Linked DNA regions of Homo sapiens: all the other regions are linked to region 1. Evidence: promoter capture Hi-C in 16 types of primary human blood cells and fetal thymus (Javierre and others, 2016). All regions are on one chromosome and are shown on one strand. Each heading gives the region's core, a stretch centred on a gene start or on the middle of the fragment in contact. The rest is flanking DNA. Distances are from core to core; before and after follow the strand shown. Region 1 holds the start of UQCC3 (ubiquinol-cytochrome c reductase complex assembly factor 3). Region 2 has its middle 12 kb from the start of SCGB1A1. Region 3 overlaps SLC3A2 (solute carrier family 3 member 2).

The links. The method cuts DNA at HindIII sites, captures the fragments that hold promoters and counts their contacts. A CHiCAGO score of 5 or more calls a contact.
Region 2: a fragment that was not itself captured here is called in contact with the fragment with the promoter of UQCC3 in region 1 in 7 of 17 cell types (naive B cells, total B cells, total CD8 T cells and 4 more); the score reaches 11.6 in naive B cells.
Region 3: a contact is called between a fragment that was not itself captured here and the fragment with the promoter of UQCC3 in region 1, in 3 of 17 cell types (naive CD4 T cells, naive B cells and naive CD8 T cells). The highest score is 5.2, in naive CD4 T cells.

Annotation. Positions count from the first base shown.
Region 1 is chr11:62,670,388-62,674,133 of GRCh38, reverse strand. It overlaps UQCC3 (ubiquinol-cytochrome c reductase complex assembly factor 3), which reads right to left and starts at 2,461. Exons shown (of 2, transcript NM_001085372.3): 1 at 2,269-2,461; 2 at 448-2,181. The coding sequence starts at 2,388. The coding sequence ends at 2,020. LBHD1 (LBH domain containing 1) reads left to right here and starts at 1,867. Exons shown (of 7, transcript NM_024099.5): 1 at 1,867-2,570. RefSeq lists a silencer at 1,658-1,787 and enhancers at 2,028-2,187, 1,554-2,295, 2,296-3,035, 3,036-3,746. The HindIII fragment of the contact is 2,853 bases long and covers 803-3,655 here.
Region 2 is chr11:62,428,793-62,432,538 of GRCh38, reverse strand. No RefSeq gene overlaps it. Among named protein-coding and RNA genes, the nearest start is that of SCGB1A1, 12 kb to the right of the region's middle. The HindIII fragment of the contact is 7,397 bases long and covers 1-3,746 here.
Region 3 is chr11:62,884,720-62,888,465 of GRCh38, reverse strand. SLC3A2 (solute carrier family 3 member 2) reads right to left here. Exons shown (of 9, transcript NM_001013251.3): 6 at 3,109-3,289; 7 at 2,858-3,001; 8 at 248-331; 9 at 1-135. Among named protein-coding and RNA genes, the nearest start is that of SLC3A2, 5.7 kb to the right of the region's middle. The HindIII fragment of the contact is 5,324 bases long and covers 1-3,746 here.

The DNA.
Region 1 (3,746 bases), core at 1,212-3,711:
CCACCCTGCTGTCCTGTCAAACTGCTCCTGACTCCACTCCTTCCTGGACTAGGAGAAAGGCCACAGTTACTCTGTAAAGATCACATGTAACATGTGTTCCAGCAGCTGAAAAGAGCACCAATACTTATATCTGGGTTTACACCCCAGTGTTAGAAAGCTTTATTTGGGCCAGGCACGGCGGGTCATGCTTGTAATCCCAGCACTTTGGGAGGTTGAGGCGGGCAGATCACCTGAGGTCAGGAGTTCAAGACCAGCCTGGCCAACATGGTGAAACCCTGTATCTACTAAAAATACAAAGATTATCCTGGCATAGTGGCGCACCCCTGTAGTCCCAGCTACTGGAGAGGCTGAGGCAGGAGAATCGCTTGAACCCAGGAGGCGGAGGTTGCATTGAGTTGAGATCGCTCCATTGCACTCCAGCGTGGGCAACAACACAGAAATTCTGTCTCAAAAAAAAAAAAAAAGCTTTATTTGGTGTTCTGACTTTAATAACAGCAGCCTTTTTTTCAATTGCAGTCTTGCTTGGGAACCACAGGATAGACAAAAGAGGAGCAACTTGGTTGACTAGGCTGTGGGGCTTTGACCCCACTTATTTAATCCCCTCAGTGGCAGCTCCAATAAATCCTGACCAGATCCAGAGATTGGGGACCACTTTACATTTCTAAATTAATGTTTTACAATAATCCTCGTAGTTATGACCTTTCATAGAACAGGGCTGAGGTTTGTAACATGCTGGAGTTCAACCAGGATCTGTGACTCAAAGCACACTCCTTTTACTACTAGTAAGTCAGCCTCCTAAGCTTGTTTAACCAGAGGTTAAATAATGGCCACAGAAAGCATTGTGGCATATGTTAAGTGCTAGATGCCCCTCCAATCTCGCTCCAAGGACAGGAGTCCTGAGTGTCCACTATAGGCATCCATTACTTCAAGACTTCCCAGGATAGTTCAGATTTCAAGAATGTCCCACGGTTATCCCTGGAAGTACACTCCAACCTGACACCACATGACCTGTTTTGAAAATGTGGTTGGCCGGGCGCAGTGGCTCACGCCTCTAATCCCAGCACTTTGGGAGGCTGAGACGGGTGAACTGCCTGAGGTCAGGAGTTCGAGATCAGCCTGGCCACATGGTGAAACCCGCCTCTACTAAAACTACTAATATCAGCCGGGCGTGGTTGCGGACGCCTGTAATCCCAGCTACATGGGAGGCTGAGTAAGGAGAACAGCTTGAACCCAGGAGGCAGAGGTTGCAGTGAGCCAAGATTGCGCCACTGCACTCCTGCCTGGGTGACAAGAGCAAGACTCCATCTCAAAAAAAAGAAAAAATGTGGCCGCGGCAGGGCGAGGTGGTTCACGCCTGTAATCCCAGCCCTTTGGGAGGCCGAGGCGGGCGGATCACCTGGGTCTGGAGTTCGAGACCAGTCTAGCCAACATGGTGAACCCTGTCTCAACTAAAAACACAAAAGTTAGCTGGGCTTGGTGGCGCGCACTTGTGATCCCGGCTACTCGGGAAGCTGAGGCAGGAGAATTGCTGGAACCCAGGGGCGGAGGTTGCAGTGAGCCGAGATCGTGCCACTGCACTCCAGCCTGGGTGACATTGACTCCGTCTCAAAAAAAAAAAAAAAAAAAAAATGTGGTCAGATACCTATCGGGATCAGCCTCTTCTGGTGGGGTGGGACAGGCAGCAGCTCCAGGCCGCGCCCCCAGCACCGACCACGCGTCTCTAAGCATTGGTAGGTGTCGACTGCAGGGCTCATTCTGGGTGGAGGAACATGATTTTATTGGTTCTTTCAGTTCACCACATCCGACTCGCGTCTCGGCCCTGGCCCGCCTTGCGGACCTTAAAGCAGTCAGTCCAGGGTTTGGGGGAAACGTGCTCACCCGACGGCAGCTCACAGGACCCCGGAGAGTCCTGGCATGGTATCTCGGTCCGGACTCTCCGCTGGGCCCACGAAGGAGAAAGGCTGCCTCGGATTCCTGCGCCCAAGCCAAGGTCCGGCGCCCACGGAGGCAAGTCCGGTCTCACGGTGACCTCCCGCCGGCGCCGCCTTCGCCGCCAACCATCCAGTTCTTCCTCCAGGCCACGTTCTCCTGCGTGGTCGCTGCCTCCTGCAGAGTGGCCAGCAATAGCTGCTGGGTCCTGGCCGCCTCCTCCCTGCTCCTTGGGTCCTGCAGTGGCATCTCCTGAGGGCAGGAAGGGGAGTTCGCAGGAGCTCCAGTCCGGGGCTCTCCACCCGCCCACCCTTCCTCGGGACTACCAGTTGCTTCTACCTTTAGCATTTCCTGCTTCCGCCGCTCTCCCGGGGTCACGATAACGAGGAGCGCGTAGCCCACGCCAGCCCCTGCGCCCAGCATTGCGACTGAGATCAGCATTTTCCGCAAGGAATCCATGGCCGCCTGCACAGCCAGCGGAGCGCCCACGGGAGCTCCCCGCAGCCGCAAGCTGTTGCCGCGCGGTCTCACTACCCCTTGGCGCAGGCTAGAGCGCCCTATAGCAGAAACCATAGATAAGCGGCCGGCTAGAGAGGACCTGCTCGAGGAAACGTTTGGAATCCGGAGCGCTTGGATCTCAGGTTTAGCTGAGGGGGTTGAGGTGTCCAAGAAGTGCTGGCACCAAGGGCTGAGCGCGGGGACCCTGTGTCCTCAATTCCGGGGTGGGATTGCTAGGGGGAGAGTGCGTGTCTTCATGGTTGCCGTGGGTTTTATGATTGCCCATTTTTCTGTCTTCCGACGTTTCCCGATCAGTAGAGGCCCGAGCTGTGCTCTGTGGTTTCCTGCAGTCACCCGCGCGTTTTCAACACAGCGCATGGAGGGCATCTACACACATACACATCCCTCTCCATCCCCTCAACTCTGGAACAAACACTCAAAGTCAAGTATACTGGTTGGAGAAATGGGTAATAGTTACTTATCTTTAACATTTATTTTACAAACAACCTATTCCTTTTCTCGTCATGGTACACACTTGGTATTGTTTGGGTTTTTTTTTGGTTTTGTTGTTGTTGTTAGTGTGTGGGCGTGGTTTTGTTTGTTTTTGGAGACAAGGTCTCGCTCTGTCGCCCAGGGCTGGAGTGCAGTGGCGCGATCATGGCTCACTGAAGCCTCGACTTCCAGGGCCCAAGCGATCCTCCTGCCTCAACCTCCCGGATAGCTGGGATTACAGGCGTGCACCACCACGCCCGGCTGGTATTGCTTTTTGTTTTGCTTCGTTTTCTTTTTTGCTTTTTGAGACAGAGTCTCACTCTGTTGCCCAGCTGGAGTGCAGTGGCGTGATCTCGGCTCACTGCAAGCTCTGCCTCCCGGGTTCACGCCATTCTCCTGCCTCAGCCTCCCGAGTAGCTGGGACTACAGGCGCCCGCCACCACGGCCGGCTAATTTTTTGTATTTTTAGTAGAGAAAGAGTTTCACTATGTAGGTCAGGCTGGTCTCGAACTCCTGACCTCGTGATCCGCCCAATCCGCCCACCTCGGCCTCCCAAAGTGCTGGGATTACAGGTGTGAGCCACCGCGCCCGGCTGTTTTGCTTTGTTTTCAACCACTAAAAGGCTGGATTCGTGTAACATACTGAATTCTGCTTTACAGAAGAAAACACCTCTTAGCTGTGTGACTGATTATAGGCAAGTTCTTGTGCCCCGGTTTCTGCATCAGAAAATGAAGCTTATAACAACAGTACTTGTCTCACAGTTTTAGGATAATTAAATTAGTTATATGTAAAGCAATTAAAACAGCTCCTGCCAAAGAGTAAACACC
Region 2 (3,746 bases), core at 856-3,355, 240 kb after region 1:
CACGCCCAGCTAATTTTTGTATTTTTAGTGGAGATGGGGTTTCTCCATGTTGGTCAGGTGGGTCTCAAACTCCTGACCTCAGGTGATCCACCTGCCTCAGTCTCCCAAAGTGCTGGGATTACAGGGGTGAGCCACCGTGCCTGGCCAACTAATCTCATCTTTACCTAGAAACAGAAAAGCAGGGAACAACGGAATACGATGAACTTCAAACTTTTTTTGCATTTTGGTTAGAACTTCCTGCCCACAGAACATATGAATTCCTCAAATGGGTCAGCCACAGAGTAATGGGAGGTCTTTTTGGGGGTTTAGGGTCATGTCTCAGGGGCCACTTGGTTATTGATATGGTCCTCCTGGAAGCAGAGAGATGGAATAAAAAGGTCGGGAGGCCAAGGCGGGCAGATCATGAGGTCAAGAGATCGAGACCATCCTGGCCAATATGGTGAAACCCTGTCTCTACTAAAAATACAAAAATTAGCTGGGCATGGTGGCATGCATGCGCCTGTAGTCCCTGCTACTTGGGAGGCTGAGGCAGGAGAATCACTTGAACCGGGAGGTGGAGATTGCAGTGAGCCAGGATGGCACCTCTGCACTCCAGCATGGCAACAAAGTGAGACTCCGTCTCAAAAAAAAAAAAAAAAAGGTCTCGAGTCCTGTAATATACTTAATTTACTGTCTTGGCTTCCACCTTGGTTTCAATTTTTCCACTAGAGGGTCAAAAGTAGAATCCTGCTGCTCTGATCAAGTACTTGACGCAGATGTACATTCGAATGATTTATTTTCCTTTTGCTTTCTTGGGTTTTCTAATTTTTCTACAATGAGTGGCAAGATAACTAAAATGTGAATCATGCCTTCATAGGACTCACATTCTAGAGAAGGCAACAGTTAGAAGCAAACATGCTATAGTAAGATAAATACATGATTTATCCCACTGTAAATACATGCCCCAGATTAGGGGCGTGGAAGCTCAGCAGCAGAAAGAGCCCCTGAACCTCAGGGCACAAAGTGCTGGGTAGGGAGAACAGGGAGAAAGAGCCCACAGACTAAGTCGTGAAAGAATCTGAAGGGGGCCAGACTTAGCAAATGAAATACAGTATGCCCGTTAAGTGTGCATTTTAGATAAATAATGAAACAATTTTTAGTATAAGCATGTCCCAAGTGAGTCATGAAGGATGGAGTTTGGTTCTTCCAGGGACTTTGGGAAGGGAAAGCATTTCAGTTAGCGGGAACTGTTTCTGCAAAAGTGTGGAAGTGTGAATGGCATGGATTTGTTGCCTGTTTCAAATGTGAACGTCTGTGCCTCGACATGAATCGACAAGCCTTACTCAGAGGGCAGTTTTATTTCCGAGCATCATCCACTGCTGCACCCTCAAAGTGAAGGGTAGGTGGGAAGCAGCAGGATTTGAGGCCACAGTGGGAAGCAGGGCCACCATCTCCAGGAGCCTTTGATGATGGGTGAGGGGTTTGGACTTTATCCAACAGGGGACCAGGAAGAGGGAAGGATTTTAAGCAAAAGCATGAACTTCCTGTTTGATTTTTGGCAATCATGGGAAGGAAGTAAGACTAAAATCTTAGAGACTATTTAGGAGGCAGATTAACGGCCCCTCAAGGATCTCCACGTCCTAATCCCCAGACCCTGTGCATGTGTTAGGTTACCTGGCAAGAGAGAATTAGGGTTGCACATGGATGAAGGTTTCTCATCAGCTGACCGTGAGAGGGGAGGTTGTTTTGGAGTATCTGATGGGCCCAGTGTAATCACAGAGATCCTTATGAATGGAAGTGGGAGGCAGAAGAGGAGATCAGTGTCGGAGAGAGAATTGCAGAGGCTGCCCTGCTGACTTTGAAGATGGGGAAGGGGCCATGAGCCAAGTAATGCGGGTGGCCTTTAGAAAATGGAAAAAACAAGGAGACAGATTCTCCCCTGGAGACTCCAGAAAGAATGCAGCCTGCCAACACCTTGGTTTTTAGCCCAGTGAAATGCATTTCAGACATCTGGCCTCCAGAACGAGAAGATCATAAATTTGTGTGTTTTTAAGTTATTAAGTCTGTGGTAAGTTGTTACAGCAGCCATAGAAACTAATGTAGAGGCTGTTTGCAATGATCCAGGTCACAGATGGTGAAGGCTTGGAATTGGCAATAGGGTCAAGAGAAGGGGATAAGGGCTGGGCACGGTGGCTCACGCCTGTAATCCCAACACTTTGGGAGGCAGAGGCTGGCAGATCATTTGAGTCCAGGAGTTTGAGACCAGCCTGGCCAACATGGCGAAAACCCGTATCTATGAAAAAAAATACAAAAATTAGCTGGGCATGGTGGTGTGCGCCTGTCATCCCAGCTACTCAGGAGGCTGAGGGAGGAGGATTGCTTGAGCCTGGGAGGCGGAGGTTGCAGTGAGCAGTGATTGCAACCTTGCACTCCAGCCTGGGTGACAGAGTGAGACCCTATCTCAAAAATAAATAAATAAAAAAAAATAAAGGGATCAATTCCATGTAAGTTGAGATGGACTCAGAGACCGACTGGACGCCTAAGGTCAGGAGGTCAGGAGATCCCCCAGCCCAGCAACCCTTTCTCCTCTCCTGATGCCCCAAGGCCTGCTCCTCCTTCCACAGCTCCCAGGGAGCCTCTGATCAAGTCTCTATCCTGTCCCAGGGCTGATTAGTACCTACTTTTGTGACAGGGGCCTAACAGGGAATTCTTTTTCATTTTTATTTTTGAGATGGAGTCTCATTCTGTCACCCAGGCTGGAGTGCAGTGGTGTGATCTCGGCTTACTGCAACCTCGGCTCACTACAACTTCCGCCTCTGCAACCTCTGCCACTGCAACTTCTGCCTCCTGGGTTCAAGTGATTCTCTTGCCTCAGCTGTAGCGGGGACTACAGGCATGCGCCATCATGCCCGGGTAATTTTTGTATTACTAGTAGAGATGGGGTTTTGCCATGTTGGCCAGGCTGGTCTCGAACTCCTGACCTCAGGTGATCCGCCTGCCTCAGCCTCCCACAGTGGCTTGAGCCACTGCACCCAGCCCTAAGAGGGAACTCTAAAGGAAGCTCTGTAGGTATCTGCCTCGTGGTTACACACACAGGGTGGCTGTGAAACCGCCTTTGCAAAAATTACAACTGAGGAAATTATGACAGTGAAAGAGATCAGACCTAACCGACTCCATCTTCCTTCTAACCTTTAAGCTGTCCTTGTTCATTCCTGGGCATAGGCCTGAACTAACTTTGGGAAGGAATTCAGTTCATGTTTTGACTCTGAAACAAAATTGATAATAGCCATTTCCCTAAAAAAAACCCCATTCTTGCCTGTGGACCAGTCTGCCTTTGCAAGACTAACAAATTAGCTACAAGATTAGAAATTTAGTTTAGCGGTCATGCAGCCTCTGGCTCCAAGAGTCTGAGCCTCCCCAGATTGCTCCTGCAGATAACATCACTATTGTAAAACCTAAGATCAGTGCTTGAGATAGTTTGCAGACCCTGCATTCGATGGATCAGCTGACACAACCCAGACTGGTAATCTGGCTCAACCATTTCTGCCATCCTCCCCAGGAACAGAAGACAGCAAGAAAACCACACTTCCACCCCCTAGGATTCCATCTCCAGCCTGACCAATCAGCACTCCCTGCTTCCCAAGCCCTTACCCGCCAAATTATCTTTAAAAACCCCGATCCCCGAATGCTCAGGGAGACTGTTTGGAGTAATAATAAAACCCAGTCTCCCACACACCAGCTCTGTGTGAATTACTCCTTCTCCACTG
Region 3 (3,746 bases), core at 1-2,500, 220 kb before region 1:
GCGGATATAGGAGAAGAGTCCAGGCCCAGCGGAGAACGCGTGGAAGTCCCCATGCAGTAGGGAGCGCTCCTTACTCCGCTGGTCACTCAGCCGCCGGAACAAGGAAAGGAGGGAGCCAGGGTCTTCACTCTGGCCCTAAGAATGATAAAAACATAGCAGAAGCGTGTGAGGGGCTCCCCTGGGTACAGACTTCTACAAGCCCAGCCCACCCTCCACCGGTCAGTTTCTACCCATCTAGAACTCTTACCTTCACAGTCATGTTGGCACTTACAGCCCCTGGGATGTCAGGGAAGCTGGACTCATCCCACAGCATGACTGGAGCCTCCATAGGCTGAAAAGCAGAGAAAATAGGACTTTAAAAAGGCCTGGGGTCAGGCATGGTGGCTCACATCTGTAATTCCAGCAGTCTGGGAGGTCAAGGCCAAGAGGATTGCTTGAGCCCAGGCATTTGAAACCAGCCTCAGCAACATAATGAGCCCTCATCTCTACTACAAAATTTTTAAAAATTAGCTGGGTGTAGTGTTACATCCCTATAGTCCCAGATACTGGGGAGGCTGAGGAGGGAGGATCACTTGAACCCAGGAGTTTGAGCTTGCAGTGAGCCATGACTCCACCACTGTACTCCAGCCTGGGCAACAGAGTGAGACCCTGTCTCAAAAAAAAAGCCCTGGGCCCACTGTCCCGTATCCCTCTTCCCATTCACATCCTCATCAATATATAACCTCCCCAACTCATGTCTGGCTAACTTTTTTTTTTTTTTTTTTTTGAGACGGAGTCTCGCTCTGTTCAGGCTGGAGTGCAATGGCACGATCTTGGCTTACTGCAATCTCTGCCTCCTGGGTTCAAGCGATTCTCCTGCCTCAGCCTCCCCAGTAGCTGACCATAGGTGTGCACCACCACACCCAGCTAATTTTTTTGTATTTTTAGTAAAGACGGGGTTTCACCATGTTGGCTAGGCTGGTCTCGAACTCTTGACCTCAGGTGATCCACCCACCTTGGCCTCCCAAAGTGCTGGGATTACAGGCATAAGCCACGACACCCGGCCTGGCTAACTTCTACTGGATGAGTGAGGCAGGCTCCCACCTCAGGGTCCTCACACATACACTGTTGCCCCTCAGCCAAGAGCTCCCAGATGGCTGCCAGCCAGCTCTCTCACTTCCCTCAGGTATCTGCTTGGTTATCTTACCAGGTCTCCTATGGCTACTCTCTATAAAACAAGCCCCATCATCCCCTAGTCTCTAGGCTCCTTACCCCGCCTTCTTTTGCATAGCACTGATCAGCAGCTGGCGTTTTATTTATGCATATCTAATTATCTAACCACCTCCAGCTCTCTTGTGCAATGCTGTATCCTCAGTGTAACAGACAGAAATTATTCTATAAACATCTGTGGAATAAATGAATAACTGGTTCTATAAACATCATGCTGATGGCCGGGTGCAGTGGCTCGCACCTGTAATCATAGCAGTTTGGGAGGCCAAGGTGGGAGGATCATTTGCACCCAGGAGTTTGAGAACAGCCTGGGCAACATAGTGAGACCACACCTCTACAAATTTTAAAAATTAGCTGTGGCCAGGCACAGTGGCTCACACCTGTAGTCCCAGCAATTTGGGAGATCAGGGCAGGCAGAGCGATTGAGCCCAGGAGTTGGAGACCAGCCTGGGCAACAACAGTGAAAGCCTGTCTCTACAAAAATTAGCCGGGCATGGTGGTGTGTGCCTGTATTCCCAGACCACCTGTATTCCCAGCTACTTGGGAAGCTGAGGCAGGAGTATCACTTGAACCCAAGAGGCAGAGGTTGCAGTGAGACATAATCGCACCACTGCAATCCAGCCAGATCAACAGAGCAAGAACCTGTCTCCAAAAAAAAAAAAGATCAGCTGGGCATGATGGCACGCACCTATCTATGGTACATATCCCAGCTACTCAGGAGGCTGAGGTGGGATGATCACTTCGGCCTGGGAGGCGGAGGCTGCAATGAACCAAGATCATGCCACTGCACTCCAGCCTGGGCGACATAGGGAAATGCTGTCTTAAAAACAAAAACAAAAAACAAACAAACAAACAAAAAAAAAAAGTCGGGGATCAACAGTAACCCTGTATCTAAAGCTAGTGAATGCCTTTGTAGTAGTATCCCTACCATGTATTTCTTTCTTTCTTTTCTTTTCTTTTTTTTTTTGGAGAAGGAGTCTCCCTCTGCCGCCCAGGCTAAAGTGCAGTGGCACAATCTCAGTTCACTGCAACCTCTGCCTCCAGGTTCAAGCGATTCTCTTGCCTCAGCCTCCCCAGTAGCTGGGACTACAGGCGTGCACCACCACACCTGGCTAATTTTTGTATTTTTAGTAGAGACTGGGTTTCACCCTGTTGGCTAGGCTGGTTTCGAACTCCTTACCTCCAGTGATCCACCCACCTTGGACTCCCAAAGTGCTAGGATTACAGGCATGAGCCACCGTGCCCAGCCACTGCCATGTACTTCTCCACTTATTTATCTGGCTCCCTCACTAAACTATGAGCTCCTGAGGGCACAGAGCCTAGCACAGTACCCACTGTCCAAAGAATAAAGGAATGAATAAATGAATGGTGGCTACCATAGCAAACATCTGCCAGGTACCAGGCATTACCATTAAAAACATGCCCTCATTTAATACTAACCACCCTTCAAGAAATGCAGTAACACAAGGGATGACCAAAATTCAGAAAGGTAAAATAATTTGCCCAAAGCCACATAGCCACTCAGCTACTGACTAAGAATCAAACGCGTTTTCACCCCAAGGCTCACGTCTATGTGCCGCCATCCCCAGAATCATCATTGTAAGATGGATAAACAACCTCCCTGTGACAGAAAGACAGCAAGCAGTACCTGTCCAGGAAGGGCAGCTGCATCCAGGCCAATCTCATCCCCGTAGCTGAAAACAGGGGTCCCTGGCAGGGTGAAGAGCATCAGCTGGTAGAGTCGGAGAAGTTGAGCCGGCAAGAAGGAAGTCAGGAGCCTTGCCTGAGACAACTACAGGGAGAGACACTCCAGTGAGCCCCATAACCCACCTCTGCCTCTGTCTCCCAACAACCCTTTCTTCTCCCATCTGCCCCCTTTCCCACCAGCATGGTACTCACACTCCAGCTGCACCAGCGATTGCCAGTGGCATTCAAATACTGTGTGACTAGGGATTTTGTATGCTCCCCAGTAGAACCAGAATCAGACAGGTATGAGCTAGTCAACAGCAAGTCTTTGTTGGATTCGAGTAGGCTCAGGATCTGCTGAAGGTCGGAGGAGTTAGTCCCCGCAATCAAGAGCCTGCAGAGGGGAGGGAGGAGTTCAAGGTTAGCACAAGAAAGAATGGGGCCAGGCGCAGTGGCTCACGCCTGTAATCCCAACACTTTGGGAGGCTGAGGCGGGTGGATCACTTGAGGTCAGGAGTTCGAGACTGGCTTGACCAACATGGAGAAACCCCGTCTCTACTAAAAATACAAAATTAGCCAGGTGTGGTGGCCCGCGTCTGTAATCCCAGCTACTTGGGATGCTGAGGCAGGAGAATCGCTTGAACCCAGGAGGCAGAGGTTGCAGTGAGCCAAGATCACGCCATCGCACCCCAGCCTGGGCAAAAAGAGCGGAACTCCATCTCAAAAAAAAAAAAAAAAAAAAAAAAAAAAAAAAAAAGCTAAAGAAAGAATAAAGGTAAAGAAAATGCTCTAGACTAGGAATCCCCCCTTCTTAGGCCTAGCACTCCACTGAGGGGTTCCCACATTGGAGC